3 separate regions of the Homo sapiens genome follow, and all the other regions are linked to region 3. The links are contacts of gene promoters, found by promoter capture Hi-C in blood cells and fetal thymus (Javierre and others, 2016). All regions are on one chromosome and are shown on one strand. Each heading gives the region's core, a stretch centred on a gene start or on the middle of the fragment in contact. The rest is flanking DNA. Distances are from core to core; before and after follow the strand shown.

Region 1 (4,038 bases), core at 1-2,500, 110 kb after region 3:
TTGTCTACCCGGTAAGTCCTAGTAGCCTGCCTTACCTTGGCCTGAGAGTTGTGCAATGCTAGGCATGGTGGGTGGTGAGGACGTCTGAAAGGAGAAGTTCTTTGTCCTCACAGCACTTCCCAGGGCTATGGGAAAAGCAGAAGTAAGATCAAGGTGGGTTGCTGAGAATACTCTAATCTGGAGAAAGAGAACTAGGGGCTTTTTGGATTGTGGGGACAATGTGTCTGTGGGTTACGGGGTGGAAAGACTCTTTCAGAGGACTATACACTTCCTTTACACTTAAAGGAAGTGTAAAGAAAATTAGTACTAATAAGATCAGAAACTAATAAAATTAGAAAAAGAATACCTGTGAAAACTAACTAAAAATAAAACCAGAAACTGGTTCTTTAAATTATGACTAAGCTGGGTGCGGTGGCTCATGCCTGTAATTCCAACACTTTGGGATGTGGAGGCGGTTGGATCACCTGAGGTCAGGAGTTCGAGACCAGCCTGGCCAACATAGCAAAACCTTGTCTCTACTAAAAATATGAAAATTAGCTGGGCATGGTGGTACACACCTGTAGTCCCAGCTACTCGGGAAGCTGAGGCAGGAGAATCGCTTGAATCTGGGAGGCGGAGGTTGCAGTGAGCCAAGATCATGCCACTGTACTCCAGCCTGGGCAACAGAGCGAGACTCTGTCTCAAAAAAAAAAAAAAATTATGAATAAAGGCTGGGAACAGTGGCTCACACCTGTAATCCCAGCATTTTGGGAGGCCAAGGCGTGAGGATCACCTGAGGTCAGGAGTTTGAGACCAGCCTGGCCAACATGGTAAAACCCGTCTCTGCTAAAAATACAAAAATTAGGCCAGGCGCAGTGGCTCATGCCTGTAATCTCAGCACTTTGGGAGACCAAGGTGGGTGGATTTCTTGAGGCCAGGAGTTCGAAACCAGCCTGGCCAACATGGCGAAACCCCATCTCTACTAAAAATACAAAAAAATTAGCTGGACGTGGTGGTGCGTGCCTGTGATCCCAGCTACTTGGGAGGCTGAGACACAAGAATCACTTGAACCCGGGAAGCGGAGGTTGCAGTGAGTTGACATCATGCCACTACAGCTGTACTCTGGTCTGGGCAACAGAGTGAGACCCTGTCTCAAAAAAAAAAAAAAAAAAAAGGCCAGGCGCGGTGGCTCACGCCTGTAATCCCAGCACTTTGGGAGGCTGAGGCGGGTGGATCATGAGGTCAGGAGATAGAGACCATCCTGGCTAACACGGTGAAACCCCATCTTTACTAAAAATACAAAAAATCAGCTGGGCGTGGTGGTGCTCGCCTGTAGTCTCAGCTACTTGGCAGGCTGAGGCAGGAGAGTCACTTGAACCTGGGAGGCGGAGGTTGCAGTGAACTGAGATCACGCCACTGTACTCCAGCCTGGGCAACAAAGCAAGACTCTGTCTCAAAAAAAAAAAATATATATATATATACACACACACACACATATATGTTTTATATATATACACATATATATACACGTATATATATATATACGTGTATGTATACGTGTATATACGTATATATATGAATAAAGAAGAAAACCTCTTGGTTAGCCTAATTAAGGAGAAAAAGAAAACCAAAGTATACTATTTTCAGAAGTGGAAAGATATAGATACGGGAGAAAATAGAAGAATTATAAAAGAATATTGTGGACTTGTTTAGGCCAACAGATTTGAAAATCTGAAGGAAATGTTTGATTTCTTTTTTTTTTTTGAGAAGGAGTTTCACTCCTGTTGCCCAGGCTGGAGTGCAGTGGCACGATCTCGACTCACTGCAACCTCAGCCTCCCGGGTTCAAGTGATTCTTCTGCCTCAGCCTCCCAAGTAGCTGGGACTACAGGCACGCACTAGCTAATTTTTGTATTTTTAGTAGAGATAGGGTTTCACCATATTGGCCAGGCTGGTCTTGAACTCCTGACCTTGTGATCCGCCCGCCTTGGCTTCCCAAAGTGCTGGGATTATAGAAGTGAGCCACCGTGCCCTGTGGAAATGTTTGATTTTCTAGCAAAATATAAGTTACCAAAGTGGATTGTAGAAGAAAATAATGAGATTTTTTTTTTTTGAGATGGAGTTCCACTTTTGTTGCCCAGGCTGGATGGAGTGCAGTGGTGCAATCTCGGCTCACTGCAACCTCTGCCTCCCGGGTTCAAGTGATTCTCCTCTTGACTTCGTGATCCGCCCGCCTCAGCATCCCAGAGTGCTGGGATTACAGGCGTGAGCCACCATGCCCGGCCTGTCCTCCCTTTTTTTTGTTGCAGGATCTTCCTGATTTATTTTTATAAAGCTAATGTAACCCTGATACCTAAACCTTGACAATAGGTACTATAAGAAAAAAACACGTGATCACAGATTTTTTTTGGGGGGGGATGGAATCTCACTCTGTCGCCCAGGCTGGAGTGCAGTGGCGCCATCTCAGCTCACTGCAACAACCTCTGCCTCCTGGGTTCAAGCGATTCTCCTGCCTCAGCCTCCCAAGTAGCTGGGACTACAGGTGCGTGCCACCACACCGGCTAATTTTTTATTTTTAGTAGAGACAGGGGTTTCACCATATTGGCCAGGCTGGTCTCAAACTCTTGACCTCAGGTGATCCGCCTGCCTCGGCCTCCCGAAGTGCTGAGATTACAGGCATGAGCCGCTGCAACTGGCCTGTTTTTTGGTTTTTTTAGAGATGGGGTTTCATTATGTTGCCCAGGCTGGAATACAGTGGCTATTCACAGACTCAATCATTGCACACTACAGCCTTGAACACCTGGGCTCAAGTGAGCCCCTTGCCAAGTAGCTGGGACTATAGGTGCGTACACCACGCCTGGAAGGTTGTTGGTTTTTTTTGTTTCTACTAAAAATACAAAAATTAGCTGGGTGTGGTGGCGTGCGCCTATAATCCCAGCTACTCAGGAGGCTGAGGCAGGAGAATTCACTTGAACCCAGGAGGTGGACGTTTCAGTGAGCTGAGATAATGCCATTGTACTCTAGCCTGGGTGACAAGAGCGGAACTCGATTTAAAAAAATTTTTTTAAATAAATGAACAAAAAACAAGGCCAGGCGTGATGGCTCATGCGTGTAATTCCAGCACTTTCGGAGGCTGAGGCAGATGGATCGCTTGAGCCTAGGAGTTTGAGACTAGCTTGGTCAACATAGATGCTGTCTATACAAAAAATAAAAATAAAAAAACTAGCTGGGCGTGGGGTGTACGCCTGTAGTCCTAGCTACTTTAGAGGCTGAGGCAGGAGCCTCAGGACTTTGAGGCTGCAGTGTGCTATGACTGTGTCACTGCACTCCATCCTGGAGTGTGAACCACCATGCCTGGCCCAGGAAATATTTTTTACAGCATTATGTATAATAAAAAATTACAAACAAGTCAAATGTCCATTTGTAGAGGCATGACTCAATAAATTATAGTTCATCTATTGAGTGGTATACAATGGAGCCACTGAAAAGAATGAGATGAATCTGAACCCACCTGCAAAGGCAGCTGTGATTTATCATAAAGTTCAAGAGAATTAAATTGTACATCCATGACTAAGACTTCACTGGAGCTGAAGGTGGTTATAGTTAGGTGGAAAGAGAGGTGGCATTAATTCAGGTAGTAGCCTTCGTCTGTCAGGCCAGGCACATGGCTCTGGAAATACACAGCTGCAGACACATGGCAGGTGCCCTCAGGTAGTTCCCTGCTGGTGATGGAGGCCGAGCCACATGCTGCATCTTTTTTTTTTTTTTTTTTGAGACGGAGTCTCGCTCTGTCGCCAGGCTGGAGTGCAGTGGTGCAATCTCGGCTCACTGCAACCTCCGCCTCCCGGGTTCAAGCAATTCTCCTGCCTCAGCCTCCCAAGTAGCTGGGACTACAGGCGAACACCACCACGCCCAGCTAATTTTTTTGTACTTTTAGTAGAGACGGGGTTTCACCATGTTGGCCAGAATGGTCTCGATCTCTTGACCTCGTGATCCGCCCACCTCGGCCTCCCAAAGTGCTGGGATTACAGGCGTGAGCCACTGCGCCCAGCCTGCAGCA
Region 2 (4,488 bases), core at 893-3,392, 84 kb after region 3:
TCCCTTGAGTTGCTCAGCCTCACTCCTAGGGATGATGTGATCAGAACTCCATCACCCCAACTTCTTCTTATGAAAGACACTAGTATATTTCATGGATCAGATTCTAGGGTATCGTTTTTACAAAGGGTCATTTTCTAGAGATGACCAGGTTCTTACTTAATTCAATGTTGTCCCATTTTAGACACGGGCATCCAGGACAGGTCCCCTTGTTTCAGAATCAGACCCCAGTCTTCCTCTTCCTTTCATTTTTCACTTTGTCCCCTGCCATCCAGATTCCTTCCTGCTCCTTCCATGGCACTTCTGTTTCTGATTCTGATCTGCCTCTCCTAAAGCTGCTGAATTATATCAGGGCTCAATGTCAATGAAGGAACCCAAGGCTCAGGGAAGAGGGGAGCCAGAGTCAGTCCCAGAGGTCCTGCCTTGCAGCCCTGGTGCTGGAAGAGGGGATGGGGAGACCTAGCAGAGAGGGAGGGAAGTTGTAGTCTGTCTGTACCTGTAAATTTGTGTACATATTTGTTGGGGTGAGGAACTCCTTTTCCAAGCTGTCCTATACAAAGGTTGCCAGCCTCTTAAAAGCTTCCTTTCTACCCTGTGTCCTCAGCTTTGCCTCCTAAAATTGGATCCTCTTCCCCAAGTACCCTGAGCCTAGTGTCAGAAATGCTGGGTCAAGGCACTCGGCAGTCTCTAAATCCTGAGGCCATGAATGGATGTTCCTTCAACCCAAGGAGCAAGCTTTCCTGGTCATCAGCCCCATTGCTCTTAGAGGACCCAACAGACTAGTAGCTGATCCTCAGGGTCTCTCATCTGTATGCCCACCATTTGTTGTTTCCTCTTTGTCTCTCCTGTGTCTTTCTGTTTCCCTGTCTCTGCGTGCCTTCTTCTTTCCTGTCCCCTCTATGTTCTCTGTCGCTGGAGTATCCACTGGAGACAAGGGCTGGGCTGGGTGCATGGGCGGGTAGTGGCCAGACCAGGGGCCCGGGACATGAGCGCAACTTTCCAAGCTTCTCTTCCAGGCCCCTGTGGTTGGGGAGCTCCACAGAGGGAGAGATGAGTCAGCGGGGCCGCAGAGCAGCGGGGGCCTGGGTGGGGGTAGGGATGCTGGGGTTCCCCAGGACCAGGGAGTTCGCTGGGGCCATCTGGGTCTCTGAACTCTGGTGTGTGTGTGGAGTATTGGATCAAAAGTACCTAAAGGTACACTGGAACTTCTTATACTAGTAGGAGTTGGAGGCAGCAATTTGCAGGACTGGCAGTGGCCTCCATATCACCCTTATCTCCAGATCCTTATAGGGAGAGGGGTTCCCAAATGCCCTTTAGGAGACCACAGAGATCTCCAGGGCTGTAAAGTTGTAATGGTAGCCCTGGGTATATGTATGTGACATTTGCCACATGTGTAGATACGTGTGTTGATGGGAGTCTGTGAGTCCATGTGGGGAGTATTCTAGGTGGCTGTGAGTCTGTATGCATGTATATATATACTGGTGTGTGCATTTTTATGATTGGGGGTTAGGGTGTCTTGGGGTAAGCATTATCTGTATATGTATATATCAGTGTGTGTCAATATGGATGCCTGCATAGTACAAATGTGTATGAATTATGTGTCACCTTGTGTGTGTGCAAGTATGCAGATCTGAATGTGTCTGTCATCAGGTATGTATTAGGGCATGTGTCAGTCTCTATTTCAGGGGCTCTGCTCACTATTCTCTGGTGATTCTCCCTAGGGTAGTCAAACCTTCTATAACAGCAACAATGAAGAGTTGGGAGTCCCTTTGGATGAGGCTCTTAGAGACAGCCCAGCCTAGAAAGGTGGTAGAGGGTGATGGTGTGGACGATGGAAGTAGCATCCCTTGGGAATAGGGGGTACAGGTCTCCCACTCTCCCCAGTTTTTTTTTTCTTTCTTTTTTTTTTTTTTTGAGATGGAGTTTTGTTCTTGTTGCCCAGGCTGGAGTGCAATGGCATGATCTCAGCTCACTGCAATCTCCACCTCCTGGGTTCAAGTGATTCTACTGCCTCAGCCTCCCAAGTAGCTGGGATTACAGGCACCCGTCACCACGCTCAGCTGATTTTTGTATTTTTAGTAGAGACGGGGTTTCACCATGTTGGCCAGGCTGTCTCAAACTCCTGACCTCAGGTGATCCACCCACCTTGGCCTCCCAAAGCGCTGGGATTACCGGCGTGAGCCACTGCACCCGGCCCCACTCTCCCCAGTTTTCATTCTGTTTTCACCCCACTGATCTTTCCAAAAAGATCCAAAATCATTTGGAGAACTGAGGCAGGTGCCAGATTCAACCCCCTCTAACCTACAAAGCCCACCCTGATTCTCCTAGGGGAGGGTGGGAAGGGAATGGTTCCTGTGGTTCAGCCCAGTCCTGGCATTGGGATATCAGAAAGGCATCATCCCACCCCTTCCGTCTGGGGCATCCATCCCTTGGAGCTCAGCGTCTGGGTGGCCATGGGCGGAGGCTGAGGGGCCCCCAGGGTGGTGGGGGGTGGTGGATAGAAACCAGATGCCTAGGGGGTTTATACTGGAAGGACCAGAGCCGCAGCCTCTACCCGCCCCTGCCACATGGCGCCTCTCCCTGGTCTGCCCCACCCCCTGGGAGGCTGGGCTGAGGGAGGCCTGAGAGGGTGGAGGTAGGTCCTTGGTTAGGGCTTCCAATTGCTGCCCCCAGCCCCTCAGGGCACTGGGAAGGAGACTGGGGAGCTGGACCCAGGAACACCAGAGCCTCAGCTGGGCTGCAGGACTATTTTTAAAAAGGACATGGAGAAGTCAGAACCCAGGGGTTCCTGAGGGCAGCAGCTGGGGGATTCAGGCAGCCCCTCTGCCTATCTTTGGCGCTGATCTCTGGTGGGGAAGAGGCTCTGTGTCCAGAGGGTGTCCTATGTTGACACATCGGGGCACTGGCTCACATCTTCCTGGGACTCTGCTCCTCCTTTTTATTTCTCCGAGAATAGTAGGGTTCGAATAGAGAATAGTAGGGTTTGAATACGTCTGCCCCTTCCCGGGTAGGGTTAGGGATTAAAGCCCACACGGGGAGTGAGAAGGTGACCCTTCCTTCCAACTCCTCTCCCCAGCCCTGTCTGTCCATTTATCTTTCCATCCTTCCTCCTTTTCCCCTTCAGTTTCTTCCTTTCTTCTCTCATCTAATCTGAGTCCCAACCCCCTCCTCACCTGCTATCTCTTCTTTAGAATCTAGACTTTCTCCTCCTCTGCCTCAGTTTCCTGCCTGATCTAACTGGGTCGGGCTTTTCTGCTGGTGATACAGGAATTTCTCTAAAGCTTCTCTTTCTCAACTTCTGAGTTCGGGGCCCCGGAAAGCCATCTGGCACCTCAGTCTCAGACTCCCCCCCAACAAGGGGGAGACCGCGAGGTCACAGGGACACCCCACCACGGGCACTTCCTCTCAGGCAGACGGGTGGGGTGGCCCGTGTAATCAGCGGACACAATTATGTGCTATTTATACTCCTTCCCCGCCCCCCCACCTGCCTGGCAACACAACCCTCCTCCTCCTCCTCCTCCTCCTCCTCCTCCGGACCTGGCTATGCCTCAGGCTATTTTCTCTGTCCTTCCCAAGCCATTGTCTCCCCATCTTTGTTCCTCTGGGCCTGTTTCTTTATCTTTTTAGTTTCTTTCCTGCTCTGTTTTTTGTTGTTGTTGTTGTTGTTGTTTAAAGCCACACATCTGGTCTTCTGTTTTCCTGTTTCCTCTCTCTTATACCTGGTGATATCTCTTCTGATTGTCTTGGACTCTTTCATTTGCTCTGTTTCTTCTTTTGCTGCTTTCTCTTTGTCTATCAGCCACCTGGTTCCCAAACCCTTCCCCTAAACCTTGGGTTCCCAGAGTTCCTTGAGGTAAATCAAATCATGGGGCTAGAATCCAGAACTCCTGGGCCCTACCCTGAAATTGGTGCCTACCTGCTGGCGAAACTGCTGTGCAACCCTCCGTGGACCTCCATCTGCTCCTGCCACCTCCCAGCTTTTTCTTTGGAGATCTGGGAGAGCAAAAGGAGCAAGGAATTGGGCACTCCGAGAAAGTGAGGGGATGGTGTTGCAGAGTGAGGAGAGTGGAAAGGATGGGGCTTTATTCCCCTGACAGGGAGAGCTGGGAGGGGGAGAAGTGTGTGTTAAGGAATAACCTGTAAAACAACCCCAGCGGGCTAAGCCCCCCTGTGGGAGAGCTGCCGGTGTCACCACTTAGCTGCCCAGTCCTCTCTCCCATAAATACCTCAGGGCCCATGGCCCAGGTTTCAGGTAATAGACTTTTTGGGTTTCCCTCCTAACCTGGCTGCCCTTCCTTCTCTTACTTCCTATTTTGTTGGGAAGTCCTTATTAAGTTCTAACTTCAGTTCTTTCTGTGGAAGAGGGAATTGATGCATGGCAATGAGAAAGGGAACCAGGAGTTCCCAGGAAAGTCAGATCACTCTGGAGAACTGTCCACCAAAGGATGGAGATTAAACCCATGGTCTCTAAGAGATGGTAACTTGGTTACC
Region 3 (4,514 bases), core at 1-2,500:
TCCCCTCCTGAGAGCTTGCGTCTCAACCCACCCCCACCCTGGTCACAAGACCCCTTATCTCCCAGTCACCAGGGCAACCAACTTCCCAAGGCCAGGAGGAGGAAAGCGTGGGGCGGGAGTAGGGTGAGAACTGGCCCTGGTTCCACCTCTCATCCTAACCTGGGCCCCAGCCCCCATCAGGCTTCAGTACCCTTGGGTGGCTACCTGGGGCAGCCTGGGGACCCTGGGAGCCAGGAGTCCCAGGGCTCCCTGGAGGAGGCAGATGGCTGTAATTGGCATTGCAGAAGTCAGTGCCACAGGAGCAGGTGAAGAGAGTGGAGCCAGGGCTGGGGTGGGCTCGGGGACTTGGGTCACAGTGGAGGGACTCACAGCCTGGCTCATCACTGTCTCGGCATCCTGATGGGATGGGATTAGGGGAAGAGGAGAGAAAGGGGGGGCAAGGAAGAAAGCACAATGGGGTGTGGAAACAGAGGGTAAATCCCTTCTCTATCAGAGGCGTCCCTTCCAGCTCTCATGGGCTTTTCTTTCCCACCAGATGTTCTATTTCTCCCCTTCCCCCTTGGTTGCCACCCACACCCCAGGATGTGTCTGTCTCCCACCCTAGCCATCACCTGCCATATACTTTGCCATTCACCTTGCATTTCCACCTGTGCCCGGTCTTGGGTCAGGTTCCAGATCCCAAAGCAGCAGCGGCTGTAGAGGCAGCGGATAGCTCTGGGGAGCTCTGTGCCTGTATCTAGCAGCTCTCCCAGTGTCTTTGTGCTTCCCCGCACTCCAGGGGCCTCAAAGAACACACAGGTTCGCCTGTTTGGGGGTGCTGAGGCCCAGGGTGGGGAAAGGAAAAGATTCAAGGTGGGAGTGAATGCAGAGGCAAAAAACTGGCCAAAAGAATAGACAAAACATGTTCCACATCCCAGCGTCAGTATGGTAAAGCCACAGGAGGAAGCAGGGTCAGCAGAGGCCTGGAACCTGAGCCCTGCCATGGGGACACATGGCTCTATCCTTCACCCTTACTCACCCAGCCCACTCACCACTCTTCCAAAGGGGTGGCTCTTGCTTCAAGCGCCCCTTTCCCTTGCTGGATGGATGGAGAGACCCTTCCCCTCCCTGTAGACACTTACCTTCCACAGCTGTGGGAAGTAATGCCCAAAGCCCCAAAGACCCTAGCATCTTGCTGGAGGATGGCAGCAGCAGAAGGAGAAGAGCATAAGCCAGCACAGCTGCCCCTGGCCAAATCTTTCTTCAGATACAGGGCATCCTGGGGCTTCTGATCCCTCAGTCCCCAACTCCGCCCCCCTCATCCTATCCCAGCCTCTGTGGGGGAGAAGGCTGCTGTGGGGGAGAGGGTGGGTGTGGGGAAAGCAGGGAAAGAAAGGGAGGAGCAGAGAACCAATCTCATATCCTCTTCTCTTCTGCAACCTCCTCTTTGCTCTGCATAGTGAGAGGAGGGGAACTTGGAGGCCCAGCTGAGAACCCAGTGATGCCTAATTTCAAATCTTTGCCCTTCCCTGACCTTGGAAGAAGATGCTGGACTCTGTTGACTCTTCTCAGGAGGAAACCAATGTGAGGTCAAATGCTTAGAGCCATTCAGCTCTGCCCAAGATCCTTTCTAGCCTAAGATCTCTTTATATTCAGGGTTCATATCTGCAACTGCTTGGGCAGAGGAAGGCCTCACAGCCCATATTAGAGGTTACCTTGTTTTCCAACTTAAGAATCAGAAAGTATACAAAACTTACCTGAATTTTTAAAAAACACATTGAAAACAGTAACAATGGTAAATTTTGCTATGTGGATTTTTTTTTTTTTTTTTTTGAGACGGAGTCTCGCTCTTCTCCCCCAGGCTGGAGTGCAGTGGCACGATCGCAGCTCACTGCAACCTCCGCCTCCTGGGTTCAAGCTATTCTCCTGCCTCAGCCTCCTGAGTAGCTGGGATTACAGGCGCCTGCCACCACACCTGGCTAATTTTTGTATTTTTAGTAGAGACGGGGTTTCACCATGTCAGCCAGGCTAGTCTCGAACTCCTTACCTCAGGTGATTTGCCCGCCTCGGCCTCCCAAAGTGCTGGGATTATAGGCGTGAGCCACCATGCCTAGCCGTGGATTTTACTTAAAAAAAAAAAACACATTGGTTCACAGGCTGAACAAATACCCATTATTAAGGAGGTAACAAATTTCTTATCAAGCACCTACTATGTGCTGGGGCACAGCTAGGGCTATGCATTTTACAATCATCTCATCTAATTCTCCCCTGAAATATTTATTATTATTATTTTATTTATTTATTTTTTGAGACCGAGTGTCGCTCTGTCACCAGGCTAGAGTGCAGTGGTGCCATCTTGGCTCACTGCAACCTCTGACTCCCTGGTTCAAGCGATTCTCCTGCCTCAGCCTCCCGAGTAGCTGGGATTACAGGCACGCACCACCATGTCCAGCTAATTTTTGTATTTTTAGTAGAGACAGGGTTTCACCATGTTGGCCAGGATAGTCTCGATCTCGTGACCTCGTGATCTGCCCGCCTTGGCCTCCCAAAGTGCTGGGATTACAAGTGTGAGCCACTGTGCCTGGCCTATTATTTTTATTATTTCCATTTTATAGGTAAGAAAACTGAACTTACGTAAGTCGCCCAAAGTCATTCAGCTAGGAAATAGCAGAGCTGGAATTTGAACTTAGGCAGGTCTGACTCCAAAGTCCAGGTTCTAGTCTTATTTTTATTATTATTTTTGTACTTTTAGTAGAGACGGAGTTTCACCATGTTGGCCAGGATGGGGTCGATCTTTTTTTTTTTTTTTTTTTTTTTGAGATGGAGTCTTGCTCTGTCGCCCAGGCTGGAGTGCAGTAGCGCGATCTCGGCTCACTGCAAGCTCTGCCTCCCGGGTTAACGCCATTCTCCTGCCTCAGCCTCCCGAGCAGCTGGGACTACAGGCGGCCGCCACCACGCCCGGCTAATTTTTTGTATTTTTAGTAGAGACGGGTTTTCACCGTGTTAGCCAGGATGGTCTTGATCTCCTGACCTCGTGATCCGCCCGCCTCGGCCTCTCAAAGTGCTGAGATTACAGGCGTGAGCCACTGCGCCCGGCCGAAGGGGTCGATCTCTTAACCTCGTGATCCCTCCGCCTCGGCCGCCCAAAGTGCTGGGATTGCAGGCGTGAGCCACCGCACCCGGCCGGCTCTATTCTTTGTATTACACTATACTGCCTGAAAGACGTACAAAATTCAACAATGAAAAAAAATTACCACTTAATACTATACTTGGACATTTGAATTTAAATTGTTGAGAAAATATGCATCATTACCTGCCAACAGGCCACTAACTAAAAAGGGAGGGTACAGTTCAAACTATCACCACCAGAGGTCAGCAGAGGAGAAATTCCCTGCTGCGGTGAGAGGGCAGAAAGTACCTCCTCTGATGACTAATACATATAGTATACCTCCTACATTTACTAAGCTTCAGGGACTATAAAATGTGAAGGGCGGGCACAGGATGTGGAGAGTTTCAGCATGGAGTTGGGAGGAGAGGGCTATGGCTTGTTCTGCAGTAGAGACAGAGGAGTCCAACTCCACCAGACTCTTTCCCAGAGTAAGAAACAACAGAAATAGGTAATCACTTCCACACCTGTGAGCCACTGGCTCCTTGAGAATTAAGAGTCAGAGGGGACTTGTTCTCTGTTTCCCTAGCTTTCTGTCCCCCTAGTGGCTTCCTGGAAACCCTTTCTTGGAATGATCTGGCTTAGACCAGGGAGGACAGTCTGAGTACCGACATTTTTTTTTTTTTTTTTTTTTGAGACGGAGTCTCGCTCTGTCACCCAGGCTGGAGTGCAGTGGTGCGATCTCGGCTCACTGCAACCTCTGCCTACCGGGTTCAAGCGATTCTCCGGCCTCAGCTTCCTGAGTAGCTGGGACTACAGGCGCATACCACCACGCCCGGCTAATTTTTGTATTTTTAGTAGAGACGGGGTTTCGCCATGTTGGCCAGGCTGGTCTCAAACTCCTGACCTCAGGTAATCCGCCCCCCTCGGCCTCCCAAAGTGCCGGGATTGCAGACGGGAGCCACTGCGCCCAGCTTGAGTACTGACTTTTTGATTCTGGGGTCTTTCTTCTGGGAAACCTGCATGAAAGGAAGAGATAGTAAAAGTTCCAGTAGTTGTGAAACAGCAGCGGGAGGAATGACCAGGGCTCGAGATAGCCGCCCATCCTTCTTTGGACCCTTCCAGGAGTCTGCAGGGCCTTGCCAGTGAGATGGAATGTTGTGCTTCCAGCTACTTTCCTTCACTAGCCCCAGATCAGATAAGTCTGGGGTGGTGTGTGTGGTGGGGTGTGAGGGGAGATTTGAAGGTGAAATAGCTTCTTTTGTCTGGAATGTCTCAGGAGACTATCTCCTCCAGAGTGGGAGCAGCGTAAGGATCAGGCAGAAAGGCAGTCTCCTCACCCAAAGCTTCGGATAACTAATTCTTTCCAAGATAGAAACATTCCAGTCAGGTTTATGGGAACTATACCTGCTCTGGGCTGTTAGGTTTT

Evidence for each region. The method cuts DNA at HindIII sites, captures the fragments that hold promoters and counts their contacts. A CHiCAGO score of 5 or more calls a contact.
Region 1: a contact is called between a fragment that was not itself captured here and the fragment with the promoter of AMHR2 in region 3, in 3 of 17 cell types (M1 macrophages, naive B cells and total B cells). The highest score is 6.0, in M1 macrophages.
Region 2: a contact is called between a fragment that was not itself captured here and the fragment with the promoter of AMHR2 in region 3, in 17 of 17 cell types (M0 macrophages, M2 macrophages, activated CD4 T cells and 14 more). The highest score is 19.0, in M0 macrophages.

The regions. Positions count from the first base shown.
Region 1 is chr12:53,310,271-53,314,308 of GRCh38, reverse strand. It overlaps AAAS (aladin WD repeat nucleoporin), which reads left to right. Exons shown (of 16, transcript NM_015665.6): 7 at 1-11. Among named protein-coding and RNA genes, the nearest start is that of AAAS, 9.3 kb to the left of the region's middle. The HindIII fragment of the contact is 8,864 bases long and covers 1-4,038 here.
Region 2 is chr12:53,337,149-53,341,636 of GRCh38, reverse strand. It overlaps a transcript of SP7 not described here. Among named protein-coding and RNA genes, the nearest start is that of SP7, 3.0 kb to the right of the region's middle. The HindIII fragment of the contact is 2,277 bases long and covers 1,004-3,280 here.
Region 3 is chr12:53,420,591-53,425,104 of GRCh38, reverse strand. It overlaps AMHR2 (anti-Mullerian hormone receptor type 2), which reads right to left and starts at 1,250. Exons shown (of 11, transcript NM_020547.3): 1 at 1,122-1,250; 2 at 635-817; 3 at 205-396. The coding sequence starts at 1,170. RefSeq lists a cis regulatory region at 3,163-3,681 and an enhancer at 3,366-3,932. The HindIII fragment of the contact is 5,088 bases long and covers 1-3,446 here.